Linked DNA regions of Homo sapiens: all the other regions are linked to region 1. The links are contacts of gene promoters, found by promoter capture Hi-C in blood cells and fetal thymus (Javierre and others, 2016). All regions are on one chromosome and are shown on one strand. The core of a region is centred on a gene start or on the middle of the fragment in contact, and the rest is flanking DNA. Distances in the headings are between cores, read along the strand shown.

Region 1 (3,327 bases), core at 450-2,949:
TGATTTTAAGATTTATATGGAAAAGAAATGACTAAGAATAGCTAAGGAACTGCTGTAAAAGAAAAACATGTGGGTAAGTAGAGGGCTGGGAAATTTGACCAGATATTAAAAATTATTTTAAAGTTATATTAATACTGTAGATTTGGCTGTGGAATAGAACGTTCTGAAAGGAGCCCACACATATATAGAAATCTGATATACTGTAGAGATGGCACTGCAGATTAGTGGGGACAGGATGACTTCTTCAAGAAATATATAAGGACATTGGAAAAAGTAAAATTACATCTCTATCTTATATCATACACAAAATTACAGATGAATTACAAACCTAAACATGAAAGTCAAAATATTTAAACTTTTAGAAGAAAATATATGAAAACACGTTAATAATCTAAGGATTGAGAAGGATTTCTAAAAAAAAACAACACATTAAAAGTAGTTGCCATAAAGAAAAAAGAAAAATATTTAAACATTAAAATTAATCAGTTTGGTTCACCAAAAGACACCAGAGGGGTTGAAAATATGTCACAAACTGAGCGAAAATAATTGAAACATATATAACTAACAATTAATATCCAGAATATATAAAGAACTCCCATAAATAAATTAGAAAAAGACAACCCAATAGAAAAATGGACAAAGCCAAAAAAGAAAAAAAAAAAAAGCATTTAACATAAGAGGAAACATAAATGGCTCAGAAACATATGGGAAGACACTTAACCTCTTTGGTAATTAGGAAAATACAAATTAAAAGGACAATGAGACACAAGAGTCAGCTAGGACATGGAACAATGGAAATTCTCATACCCTGCTTATCGAGGGCACAAATCGCTTACAACTATGTTGGAAAACATTTTGGCATTAGTAAAGCTGAACATATACATACTCCATGATCCAGTAATTCCATACTGAGAAATATACTCTAGAAAAATTCTTACATATATGTACCAGAAGACATATAAAAGAATGTATTATCTTATTCATTGGGGTCAAAATTAGAAATTAACTCTGAAATGTTTAATTAAAAGTCATACAACATAAACTCATCATCCAAAAGTAATGTTTATGGGCACATAAATATTCTTTTCATGGACTAATTCATTAATTTCTAAATTCATTAATAAATATTTGTACATATTATCCTTTTGTAAATGCAGAGATAAAATACACCTGACAGGTCAATTTTTGATATAGCATGAATGGCTTTTTGTTCACACTGACAGGCATATGTACTTTAATCACCAAAAACTATATCAAGTATTTATAAAAGAAAGTCTCTTTTGAGGATTATTTCAGTTTAATCAGGATTAAAAGGAAATAAAACTTTATCCTTATCATCCTTGAGTGAAATAACTTGAGTTTTAATATCTTTACTTAATCAGAAAATACACAAAAGGAAACAATAATATAGAGAGAGCCTGATGTCCTGTGGTCTTCCTTAATAACAACCCATTTTCAAGAGACTATAATCTACTCAACAGAAAGCATTCTACCAAGGATCTTAGTCAGATTCTGAGAAAATTCACACTCAAAATAAACAATGTGTCACTAAAACCAAAACAATGTAGGTATTAGCAGCTGCATAAAGGTTAGCCTCAATCTAATGAGTCATTTCTAAAATGATGAAAAGTATAATTCTTTGAAGTGCTTTCTATTCAAGCTAGAAAATATATAAAGATACAGAATCGTTTACCAAGCAGGCTGACAGAGAAATTTTTCATTTTCTTTCTTGTTTGACTGTATGCAAACATCAAACTAAGAATGGCAAAAATGAATCTCTCTTCCTATATATTAATACTAACTTTTTCTTTGTTTTCTCAAGGTATTTTACTTTCAGCATCCAAGTCCATAAGAAATTTAGATGATGACATGGTATTTAATACATTCAGGTTGGGGAAAGGCTTTCAGAAGGAAGACACTGCAGAAAAATCAGTTATTGCTCCTTCCCTGGAACAATATAAAAATGATGAGAGCAGTTTCATGAACGAAGAGGAAAATAAAGTTTCAAAGGTAAGTGGCAATGTGACTTGTCGTTTATTTCAATGAAAATTTAAATGATTCTTACAAATCCTCTGAAAAGTAAAACTGATACTTTTATAAACAGAAGTATATGCAAACAGTCACAATATGCATTAGGACGACTGACGATATTTCTTACATGCCAGGTAGTTCTTCCATCCCAGCAAACACCTCTTATCTGAAAGTGTTTTTTCTCCTATAAATTTGCATCTAAGGTATTTTTAAAAAGTCAAAAACAGTGCAGAGTAACTTTGAATTGATCAACAAGAATATTATACAATTGTATTATAGTTCCACTCCGAATACGATAGCTAAAAACCAAATCAACCTTCTCTTTACAGAACACAGGCTCCAAACATAATTTCTTAAATCATGGTCTGCCACTGAATCTGGCTATAAAACCTTATCTTGCACTAAAAGGATCTGTAGCTTTCCCAGCTGAGAATGGAGTTCAGAATACTGAATCAACACAAGAAAAGAGAGAAATTGGGGATGAAGAAAACTCAGCTAAATTTCCTATAGGAAGGAGAGATTTTGACAGTGAGTAGTCTTTTCAAAATTCAATTCTTACATCCTACCACCATTAAACAGAACTCTGAGTTAAAGTGAATTTGGATGCAATCATAACAAAATCAAATAAGACCATGGCTCAATTACACCTGCCAAAAATGTGGGATTAAATAGCAACAATTAATTATTATCATTTTGGTTTACTCAGAATTAGTTATACTAGATCCATTCTTTTTTTCTTAATAAATTTTGTGTGATAATTATAGTCCTTTAAACAATTTAAACTTTCTTCTTCCTTCAGTGCTCAGATGTATGCTGGGAAGAGTCTACCGACCTTGTTGGCAAGTCTGATACCTGTTGGTCCACATCATCTTTTCAGAAGAAAATAAAAGCATTTAATTGCCAATGGGAGGAGAAGCCCATACTGCTACTATAACTTGTGTATGTTAAATGTCTGTTTTAAAAGAAAGTAGTGTTAAGATGTATCAGTAACTGAAATGATATGCTTTCTCTGTGCATTAAACTTTGTGAAAATTCTGCATAATTATGACTTACTAGTATTTTTAAACAATGCTTAACATACTAACCTTACATACACTGTAGACCAAAATAATAAATCATCATAATTTACACCTTGATCTCTTAAAAATTAAGCATGTCTTTGGTGAATGGTTTATAGATACATAAACCTAAAGCATATAAGACACAAATTTATAGTCTAAAAAACTGAGTTAACTTTGCCTGGCCAGAAATCAACTTGTCCTTGGCAGTACATTTATTACTTTTTGCTACTTTAGC
Region 2 (3,327 bases), core at 601-3,100, 790 kb after region 1:
GTAAAAATGTGGTATATGTATGTATATTTATATATATAATGAATACTATGCAGCCTTTAAAAAGAAGAAAATCCTGTCATTTGTGACAACATGGGTGAATTTATGCTAAGGGAAATAAGCTAGGCACAGAAACACAAATACTTCATGATCCCACTTATATGTAGAGTCAAAAAAAGTGGAACTCATAGAATGAGAGCAGAATAATGGCGGGATCTTGGCTCACTGCAACCTCTGCCTCCCAGGCTCAAGTGATCCTCCCATCTCAGCCTCTCAAGTAGCTGGGACTACAAGTGCCACTGTGCCTGGCTAATTTTTTTATTTTTTTGTAGAGATGGGGTCTCACTATGTTGCCTAGGCTGGACTCCAACTCCTGGGCTCAAGGGATCTGCCCGCCTCGGCCTCCCAAAGAGCTGGGATTACAGGCCTGAGCCACGACACCTGGCCGACCTTAAATATTCTTAGCACAAAATAAACATATACACACAAGCACACACGACTATGTGAGGTGATGGGTATGTTATCATTTCACAACATATACAACTATGAAAACATCACATGGTACACTGTAAATATATACAATTTTTATTTAAAGCTAGAAAAATTCTTTTAAAATAAACTAAAAAGGCAGTCCATAAGCTTCTGTTGAATGGATGAAAATCTCTACCATAAATAAAAACATAATATGCAAAGGTATTAATAAGATTTGGAAGAAAACCTAAGAGAGTATTAACAGTAGTGACTACTGGGGATCACCGAGATACAGGGTATTAGGGATGGAAGGTTTACTTTTCTCTTTTTTTTTTTGAGACGGAGTGTCGCTCTGTCGCCCAGGCTGGAGTGCAGTGGCACGATCTCGACTCACTGCAACTTCTGCCTCCTGAGTTCAAGTGATTCTCCTGCCTCAGCCTCCTGAGTAGCTGGGACTACAGGCGCCCGCCACCACGCCTGGTGAATTTTCTGTATTTTTAGTAGAGACGGGGTTTCACCGTGTTAGCCACGATGGTCTCGATCTCCTGACCTCGTGATCCGCCCGCCTCGGCCTCCCAAAGTGCTGGGATTACAGGCGTGAGCCACCGCGCCCGGCCGGAAGGTTCACTTTTCAATGGATCTTTGGGAAGTTTCAAAACATACATGCTCAACCTTTAAAAATTTCTCTAGGGGAAATCCCTTCTCCACATCCTATAGGTGTGCTTCCTTCTTCCTCTCCACACACTTCACTATCAAAACCTACATTACTTCCAACAGTCGACCCTCGAGGGAATAAGTCCCTGGTCCCCACGATCGGGACCAGCCAGTCCACACTGCCGACCCCTGAAAGGCGGTCTCAGCTGCTCGGTCAGCGAGAAAAAAAGCCGGCGAGGTCCTCGTCCTGCAGGCCACAGCGAAGACAAAAACCTCTGGTTACTGGCCTCAGGTGCAAGGCTGCTCCGCATTGGCAGCGCGGTACCATTCCTATTATTATTACGTAGTCTTGTTTCTTTCTGGGAGAAAGCACCTAGGGAGAGTTGGGCTGGCCCCGCAGGGCGCTCCGGGACACGCGTCCTCTGCAACGCCGCAGCCTGCGCCAGCGTTCGACCGGGACGACTCATCGAGGCCCGACTCGCATTTTCAGTTGTCAGATTCGCCACTTTTTGGTGTCAGAATTTAAAACAAAAATTCCAATTTCTCTATTTCAGAAGCTCTTTCTGTCCAGAAAAACACAAGCAGGAGAGACTTCAGGTTTTTGAATTATTCGTCTCTTCTGGCCTCCACGGTATCTACATCCAGTGAGCGGGGACCGTGAGTCGAAAGCGACGACGCGGATGCTCAGGCCACCGTTCCCGGCGCGCAGTCGCAGCTGACCCTCGCTCCCGCCCCCGCCTGGAGTCCGACGTGGAAGTTGCTGGCTGACTGGGCTTGCGAGGAAACCGCCTCGGAGCTGCAGCCGAAGGCCAAGGAATCACTGAAGATCGGCGAGGGAGGACAGGGGGTTCATCATGGGTGAGGGGTTCGAGAAGGGCACCTGGGCGCGCTCGAGGGAGCCGCGGCCGAGGGCTGGGGTGCAGAGGAGGAGAGGGGCCGGCCAGGATACCCTAGAGTAGCCAGCTCCTCAGGGGGCGGGTCGCGGAGGACTTGACTCACTTTGGATCTTCATCTGTAGGGGTGGATCCGGCCTCTCGCGTTCTCCTCCGTCCTCTCTCGGTTCCCCTTGATTCCTGCGGGGTCCAGGGACCCGGACAGCTTGGGGACGTCCGCAGAGCCTGGGTTCGAGTTCTTTACCCTTATCATGAAGTTTTCCCTCATCCCCAGCTCCACTTGCTGGGCAGAGTTGTTCTTGCGGAGGCTGGCAACGCGTCAGTCGCAGGTTCGCCGAGGTTTCTTGGTGAAAGATGAGCTGCGGCCCCAGAGTGGAAGCTTAATCATTCTCTTTACCAGGGGCGCTGGGACGGCGTCAGTTTGAAAAACCTGAGAGCAGGTGTTGCTTATGTTGTTTTATGGCCAGTTTGGCATTTGTCTGCTAATCTGCTGTAGCGTTTCATGTAATAATACGGGTATTTCTAGTCGGCAAATGAAACTTTATTCTTGGTTCTTGGCCCGCTGATTGAGGGAACTGCATTCTCACAAGCATCAGGTAACACCCTCGCCCCGCTAGAACCCAAGTGAGGGTGCACATTCTTTAACTCGTTTCTCACCCTCCAAATGAAGGTGCAGATTCTTTGGCTTGGTTAAATCCCTCCACAGTTTTCTGGGGAGCATACTTCTTGCTCCCAAGCATCACAGGCGCTGTCCTGTCTTCCATAACCGCCTTCAGTTTTGTTCCGCCTCTCTTCTACCTGTAAATGGTAGAAAGGACTTTGTCAAGTCACACCTATTCTGTTGAACTTTCCCAAGGTTCTCTAGCCCATGGTGTTGTTCATTTTTCAACTCGCAGCTCTTAGTTATGCCATGTCTTTGCCAAATAACAGTGTGGCATCACTTCTGATGTTAACTATTTTTTTTTGTATTAATGTAACTTGTTTTTAATCTTCTCTAATGGCTCTGGATGGGAAAAGGACTGTGCTTTTTATCCTACACAATACTTGGTGTACAGGAAGCTTTCTGGGAATATTTTGTGATGCATTGGATAGAGCTTTATTATTTTTAAAAGTGGGTTTTTTGTCAAAAATAGTTATTGTTTTCAGCTTTTTTCTCAATTTCTTGTACTAGCTATATTGCTTCGTGGAGAACTCTGATTGAAGTTGGTTATAGTGGTACTGCTGCTGTACAGTACTTTTCCTGTGCGAGGATTACATTGTCCCACTATCCTCCTTACTGGCCCCTTGGTTTTTAGGGGTAGTGAGGGGATCA
Region 3 (3,327 bases), core at 582-3,081, 540 kb before region 1:
AAAAAAAAAGAACTATCTGAACATCCAAAAAAAAAAAAAAAAAAAGGTGCTTTGGCAATATTGGTTTCATAGCTAATCAAGGCAGAGTTTCTATCCAGCTTGTATTAGTCCATTTTCACACTGTTGATAAAGACATACCTGACACTAGGGAAAACAAGAGGTTTACTTGAACTTACAGTTCCACATGGCTGGGGATGCCTCAGAATCATGGCAGGAGGAAAAAGGCACTTCTTACATGGCAGCAGCAAGAGAAAATGAGGAAGAAGCAAAAGCAGGAACCCCTGATAAACCCATTAGATCTCATGAGACTTATTCACTATCACGAGAATAGCACGGGAAAGACCGGCCCTCATGATTCAATTACATTTCCCTGGGTCCCTCCCACAACACGTGGGAATTCTGGGAGATACAATTCAAGTTGAGATTTGGGTGGGATCACAGCTTTTTTAAAGCTTCTCAGACCTTTTAAAATAATGACCTCTCTTCAGAGACCACATTTATACTTTTGCCACAAGATAAAATGAAAAAAAAAAAAATAATAACCCATAATATACTCCTGAAGAGGAGGGTCAAGAACCTTGAAATACAAAGGCAAGCGGAATTGCTCTGGAATCCCTGGTCCAGTCACTCACTTGTAGTCAGTTACATTTCTATTTCTCACCTGTCCTCCTCAGACCCAGTACTGGGAACAAATGCCTGTCTAAGTGTTGTATTGTCTCTGTTACTGTTGCTGTCATCATTGTCATCATCTTGTTGTAGCTTTAGGGCTTTTCTATTTGCAAAACTCAGTGCTTCAGCATGAATAGTTAAATGGGGTGAACATACTTCTTTTGAAATTGGCTCTCTGTTATGTAAGCAATGTTGTAATAGAAACATATATATTTAGATTAATGAGCTAATGAAAGATGGTGGTATCGTAATTGTCAAAATATATCTATGGGAGGTAGAGAAGATACAGATTACTCCTTTTTTTAACAGGAAGGAAAACTGTGTAAGACCAGTTATATTTTTTGCTCATAACAAAAATGACCAGTGTGTGGCCCTCTTAAATGATGCTTTGCCACTAGTACCAAATTGGGGGTGGGAGAGAGTCATCATTTTCCTACAAGTAAGAAAAACACCGAGAACACACACACACACACAAGTATATGGACACACACAGAAAAACACACAAACACACAAACACACATACTTGCACATGTTTCTAACTTAGATATGACGGCTTAAAGGAAGAATTGAGGGAATACAACAGACCCTTAGCTTGTAGTAGAAACTTTTAACACTGGAAAGTTCTAACTTTAGAAGGTCTTCTGAGCTCCAGTGGGCAAGAAGCTATTTGGCATACTGTAAATAGACTAGAACCACAACATCAAGGGTAGGAGACTGATAGTTACAGATTCTTCCTTAGAGATTCTCTAGTTACCAACTGTCATAATATCTATTAGCAAACAACAGCAATAAAAAAAAGCATCCTTAGAAATTTGGAATAGAAATCTCCTGTTTTCCTGTCTTTTACGTGGTCCCCTTTTCAAGTACTTTCTTATATTCTAGAAGAAGAGATTCAACAAGCAATTGGATATTATACAAGTGATTCACGCATTAGAAATGTAATTGAATTTAATGAACTTGATGGTCCTTGCCTACCCTAAGATGCTGTGATCCTATAACTTTCATGTCATACAGCTGTGATGACACCATCTCCTTCTGCATCCTATGATGTCATTGTTTGGTACCATAGCAAGTGAGATATGCACCTGTATGTTCATGTGCAAACCATCCAGGAGAAGAGTAACTAATTTTTGTATCAGTTAAAGAACAACTGGTTAATAAATTAATTTCTCTTGGGATCATAACGTTCAACTCCTCGGGATATTATAAAAATCTAACCCTGTCAACACCAACCAAAAACCTATGTGTTCAGTATAAGATGACCAGAATCAACACTTGCATTTTGCATTTAGAAAAGTGAAAACTGAAGAGGCAAGAATCAAAGGCGAAGGTTACATGAGGATCCAGGTCTCTGGTATTTGGGTTCCAAAATTTTCTTGGTAAGCTCGCTTTTCTTCATGTTGAACTGTACCCAATTTATTAACAAAGATAATTCAGTGCCAAAGTTCTAAATTGCATGGAATGGTCACCATGAGTGCATGTGGGAACCCAGGACAAAATAAATGTTCACTGTAATACAAAAGAGATGGTAAGTTGTCTTGAGTATATTTCAGTGTTATTGATATTTTGTCCACAAGATGGTAGCGTACACTTTCCAGTTAATGTAAAGCTGGCCTGTGATCCTAATTTCCCGTAAACTAGAGAATGGTTGGTGTTGAACGAAGGCCAGCCACTCTGGATATCACTCAGTATTTTTTTTTTATTGTGATGAATTGTTGATTTTAAGTATATTTAGTACTGCTATAGCAAGGTGGGGATTCAACTGAAATAAAGAACACTCAGAAATGCATTGCATTCCAGCTTCTTAAAGGGAATTTGAGAAGTGGGAATACTTTGGACATCTAAAAACCACACACCAAGGATCAGATACTGACATTTTTAAAAAAAAAATCCACTTTAGTACATTGTGCAAAAGACATTCAGGATGTCAAGTTCAATTAATCTTTGGTGAAATTTTGCACTGTAACAAAGTTCCTTCCATGAAATGAGTTCAAGAGGACTATAGATGTTTTCCCCTCAAATCCAGAGGGAAAGTAAGACCTTAGATGTTATGACATTTCCATGAGCTAAATAAGAGGGCAGTATTAGCAAGCTAGCCTGCTCTTCTGTTGTGTGCCTCTCTCCCTCAGCTAGCCCCATGTCAGAGGGGACAAGACACAGATGGCAAAAACATCTGGCCTGTCTGCCTCTATTGACCAGAGGGCCTTCTTTGAGGTTCTCAGGCTTACTTTATCTTTTTTTGAACTCTTTTTAAAATGAGAAGCTCAAGTGGGATTTCCTTTCATCTTACTATATTATTTTCAAATTAAATTAGGTCTAATGCCCTGTATCAGAATTACAAAAGCAGGGCTCCAGGGCATATAAGTGACTTCCTATTTTGTTTTTCAGAACAGCTGAGCTCCCCACCTGGGAAGGAGAGAGACAGATGAGCCACGAGCAGAAGGTGGGGTAGAATAAGAGCTGAGGGCAGGAGGGGAGGCCCTGCAGCCTCAACTCTAGGGTTTGCCCTTCCAATGGGCTTCAGCATCAAATCAAGCTTCCTCAGACCTCCAGAGTCCAGCCCTATCACAGCTATCTATTTTATTCCCCTTGTTCTGCAACATGCATCCTCTGATCTAACCTTAGAGAGGTCACTTTGCTGCTATCTATTTGGTTCTC
Region 4 (3,327 bases), core at 313-2,812, 520 kb before region 1:
AATGAGAAGTACTTGATCAATCATTTTTAATAAATGAATGAATGACTGTGAATTGAGGATATTGGCATTACATTGGTAATTACAATTACCAACGTAATGAACTCAGACCTTAAGACACTGAAAAGCCTGAAGTCAGAACTTAAGGACTAAAAAAAGGGAGACAAGGCTAAAGGGAGCTTAACTCTTTTATCACATGAACTAAGATCTAGGCTCCATTTTAGGTCTGATGAGACTCCTCCATCACGCACGCACGCACGCACGCACACACACACACACACACACACACACACACACGACAGAGTTTCTTCCTAGCCCTGTAGATCCTTCCTTCCAGGATCACTGTGTGTGGTCATCATGGTTGTGCAGGGTCCCCAGCAGGCCTGTGCTTACCTCACTGCACCCACTCCCCACCTTCAGCCCTTGCCAGGACCCATTTAGTAAGAGTCGATCTTACCGCTGAGTCCCTGTCGCCCATACCAGGAAAACTGCTACTAGAAACAATATCCAACGCCAACTCCACTCTTTTCATGGGAACCTACCTGGCTCTGGGAAGAAAGAGTTAGAACATATTATCATAACAATAACCCTGAGAGCCCCCATTGTCAAGAGATCAGATTCTGAATAGGTGGACTGTTCTGGACCTGGATGGCTGCCTTCAAACACAGCTTGCTTATTCAACAGAACTTTGTCCCTGAATAGGTATCACACTCAGAAGAAGGGGAAAACCTAGCAAGATAACAGCCCAGAGCTCTCCAAATGAAACCAGGCCCCTGACCACTTTCCTTACCACTTATGTAGCCAACTGAGATGAGTAAACAAACCAAGGAGTCCTGACAGGTTATCCAGATGGCCTGAGCAGTTAGTGCCACATCTCACCGTTCTCTTATGGACCTCAGTGCCAGAATTTGGAACACATCCATCTGTGCAGACAAGTTACACAGAACTCAGGACAAAAGGTGATATTGCTTAGAATCTCAGATTGCAGGTGTTACAGCTAACAAACTTGGGCTTGAATTCTGATCTACAGCTCACAGGGAAAGTTCACTTTCCCTCATTCGCATTCCACCGTTTGGGGATGTGAATTATGGGATGGGAGGGAAAGAGCCAAATTTTCCTTTGTGCCCTCAGGACAGTATGTAGTTATGAGTACTGATCCTGGATCCAGACAGGCCCAACCTCCACCACCAGGCCTGCCACTGCACTACTTAACATCTCTAAGCTTCAGTTTTCTCATCCGCAAAATGGGACTGCTTATAATAGAACTGAATTCAAAGGTTTCTTGTGAGGGTTACATGAGATAATATTGGTAAAGTGTTTGGTCTAGAGTAAGTCCTCAATAAATAATAGTTACTTTTAAAGGAGAAAATGACATGCAATTCAATAAACATTTTTTTCTAAGTGCTACTATATTAGAACTTAGACTGATTTTCTCTTTTACCAGTTTCGACTAGCTATTATTCTTTTAAAAGGTAAATAGTCCCTGTCATTTCTAAAATTCCTTTATAGCTCATGTGGTTTGAATACCTACCCTAGGCCTGGTCATGTAACACATTTAATACATGAAATCTCTTTTAGCCCTTACTGTGGTTATATATATGCAAAGCAGGTGATACTATTCCTGCTTTATAGCTGAGGAAACTGAGACTCAGGAGAGTTAACTGCTTTGCCAAATGTATTAAGTAGATATATTTGAATCCAAGGGTCCTGACTCTGAAATTTCCTCAGAGCCTAAAACTAATTCATGCGCAATAGCCAAATGAGAACCAAAATATTGACTTTATCCATGACCCAATAAAGTAGAAATTGTCTACATTGAGGAACACAAAATGAGACTCTTCTCTCTCTAGATCCAGACCTGGAGACTCCTGTAGCAAGGGATGGGTCTCCAGTTAGCCACTAAGCTTACATGTCCAGCCAGTCACAAGTCCACCTCACCTCCTACCTGACCCCAGAGGAGAGCAGCTAAAAGAGGATGGTGACATTTCCCAGGTGTCAGTGTTTCCACATGGAGATAGGAAACAAGGGTTAGAGGCAACGCGAGTAAGAAATAGAGGAGACTACACCCATTAGTAAGAAGAAATGGCCTAGGTTCTCATCATCCTGATTTGCCACTCCTACCCAAGGGATGAGGGGCTGTCGGAGTGAGCACGGGCAGAGAACAGCTGAACAGTTCAGCTGAGATGCACCATTTTAATGGAAACATGTCAGGTGAGGAAGGGGAGGTAAAGGGCCTTTTGTAATCATTCCAATTCCAAAGCTCACTTCACACCATCACATCTGTCCATATAGGAATGTACACTGCTCAATAGATAACAGAACTTTTTTATTTCAACTTATAAAACTGTCAGCACAGTTGTCAAAGAAAATAATGCCACCTCTTGGTCAATCCACCTAGTGGGAATGCCACCAGACCCTTGACAAAACCTCTAAAGAGAAGGAGGGCGGAGAATGAATTAGAAATACATATAATAGTGTTTTTATCCCCCTGGAATCAGTTGGGAGCTCTATTGTCTTAAAAATTTGGAAGCCGGATTTCTTACTACAAATTATGAGCCTTTCAGGATGGTGGTTGAAAGTTTGGATTTTGCTGTTAGAGAAATCTGGGTTTGAATTTTGACTTAGTTGTGCAGAATCGTTCTTTTTGGCTGGCTAATATTTGAAATTCCTTCCAATGTTTGGAAAATACCCTTCCTTGTATGAGTCTTCATAGGAGGTATGGCTCACCTCCCACTTTGGAAAGCAAATATCATTTCTCCAACCTCCTTTACAGCTGAACTTTAAGCATGAGGTCTAGAATCTACCAAATAAATGAAGCCAGGTAAATTTCTAAATTAGGAGCTACTGACACTAAGAAATAGGGACCCTGTAGAATCTACTATAGGTCAAGCAAGATCAAGTTCCTATGGTTGCAGTCCAGTGGTGCCAGTGGAAATGTCCTAAATCCGGTATCAGTGGCCTGGGTGTTAGTGTCATTAATGGACCTTGATTCTGGCTAAATAGCTCATGATCTTGGTACTCCTGCCCCCACAACAATTTTGCATATTAGTAATATTCTCTAAATACATTTCTTTTTTTGATTAAATCAGCCAAGTTAATTTCTGTTGTTTTCCATCAATAATCTTCATTTAACATTAGGTAAATTATCTTTTTAAGCCTTGAATATTCTTATATATACTGAAAAAAACCCAGTACCTGTCTCTTAAGGCTGATATAAGACTAATCGATTAACTGAGGGTATGCATGTATATATATAGACAGAGAGAGAGTGCATGTTTACCATGATGTCAAGCACATAAATGTAAATAAATGCTAGCTATGAACATCTGT

Evidence for each region. Contacts are between HindIII fragments. The CHiCAGO score rates a contact against its expected background, and 5 or more counts as called.
Region 2: the fragment with the promoter of ARL1 here is called in contact with the fragment with the promoter of PMCH in region 1 in 3 of 17 cell types (neutrophils, monocytes and total B cells); the score reaches 8.6 in neutrophils.
Region 3: a fragment that was not itself captured here is called in contact with the fragment with the promoter of PMCH in region 1 in 1 of 17 cell types (M0 macrophages); the score reaches 5.9 in M0 macrophages.
Region 4: a contact is called between a fragment that was not itself captured here and the fragment with the promoter of PMCH in region 1, in 1 of 17 cell types (M1 macrophages). The highest score is 5.2, in M1 macrophages.

What each region holds. Positions count from the first base shown.
Region 1 is chr12:102,196,205-102,199,531 of GRCh38, reverse strand. PMCH (pro-melanin concentrating hormone) reads left to right here and starts at 1,699. Exons shown (of 3, transcript NM_002674.4): 1 at 1,699-2,010; 2 at 2,361-2,559; 3 at 2,831-3,073. The coding sequence starts at 1,762. The coding sequence ends at 2,880. It overlaps PARPBP (PARP1 binding protein), which reads right to left. Exons shown (of 11, transcript NM_017915.5): 11 at 2,012-3,327. The coding sequence ends at 3,241. The HindIII fragment of the contact is 15,261 bases long and covers 1-3,327 here.
Region 2 is chr12:101,406,295-101,409,621 of GRCh38, reverse strand. ARL1 (ARF like GTPase 1) reads left to right here and starts at 1,850. Exons shown (of 6, transcript NM_001177.6): 1 at 1,850-1,980. The coding sequence starts at 1,977. RefSeq lists enhancers at 2,188-2,237, 2,318-2,367. The HindIII fragment of the contact is 1,758 bases long and covers 639-2,396 here.
Region 3 is chr12:102,739,785-102,743,111 of GRCh38, reverse strand. No RefSeq gene overlaps it. Among named protein-coding and RNA genes, the nearest start is that of LINC00485, 83 kb to the left of the region's middle. The HindIII fragment of the contact is 2,753 bases long and covers 455-3,207 here.
Region 4 is chr12:102,719,708-102,723,034 of GRCh38, reverse strand. No RefSeq gene overlaps it. Among named protein-coding and RNA genes, the nearest start is that of LINC00485, 100 kb to the left of the region's middle. RefSeq lists an enhancer at 346-983. The HindIII fragment of the contact is 682 bases long and covers 1,222-1,903 here.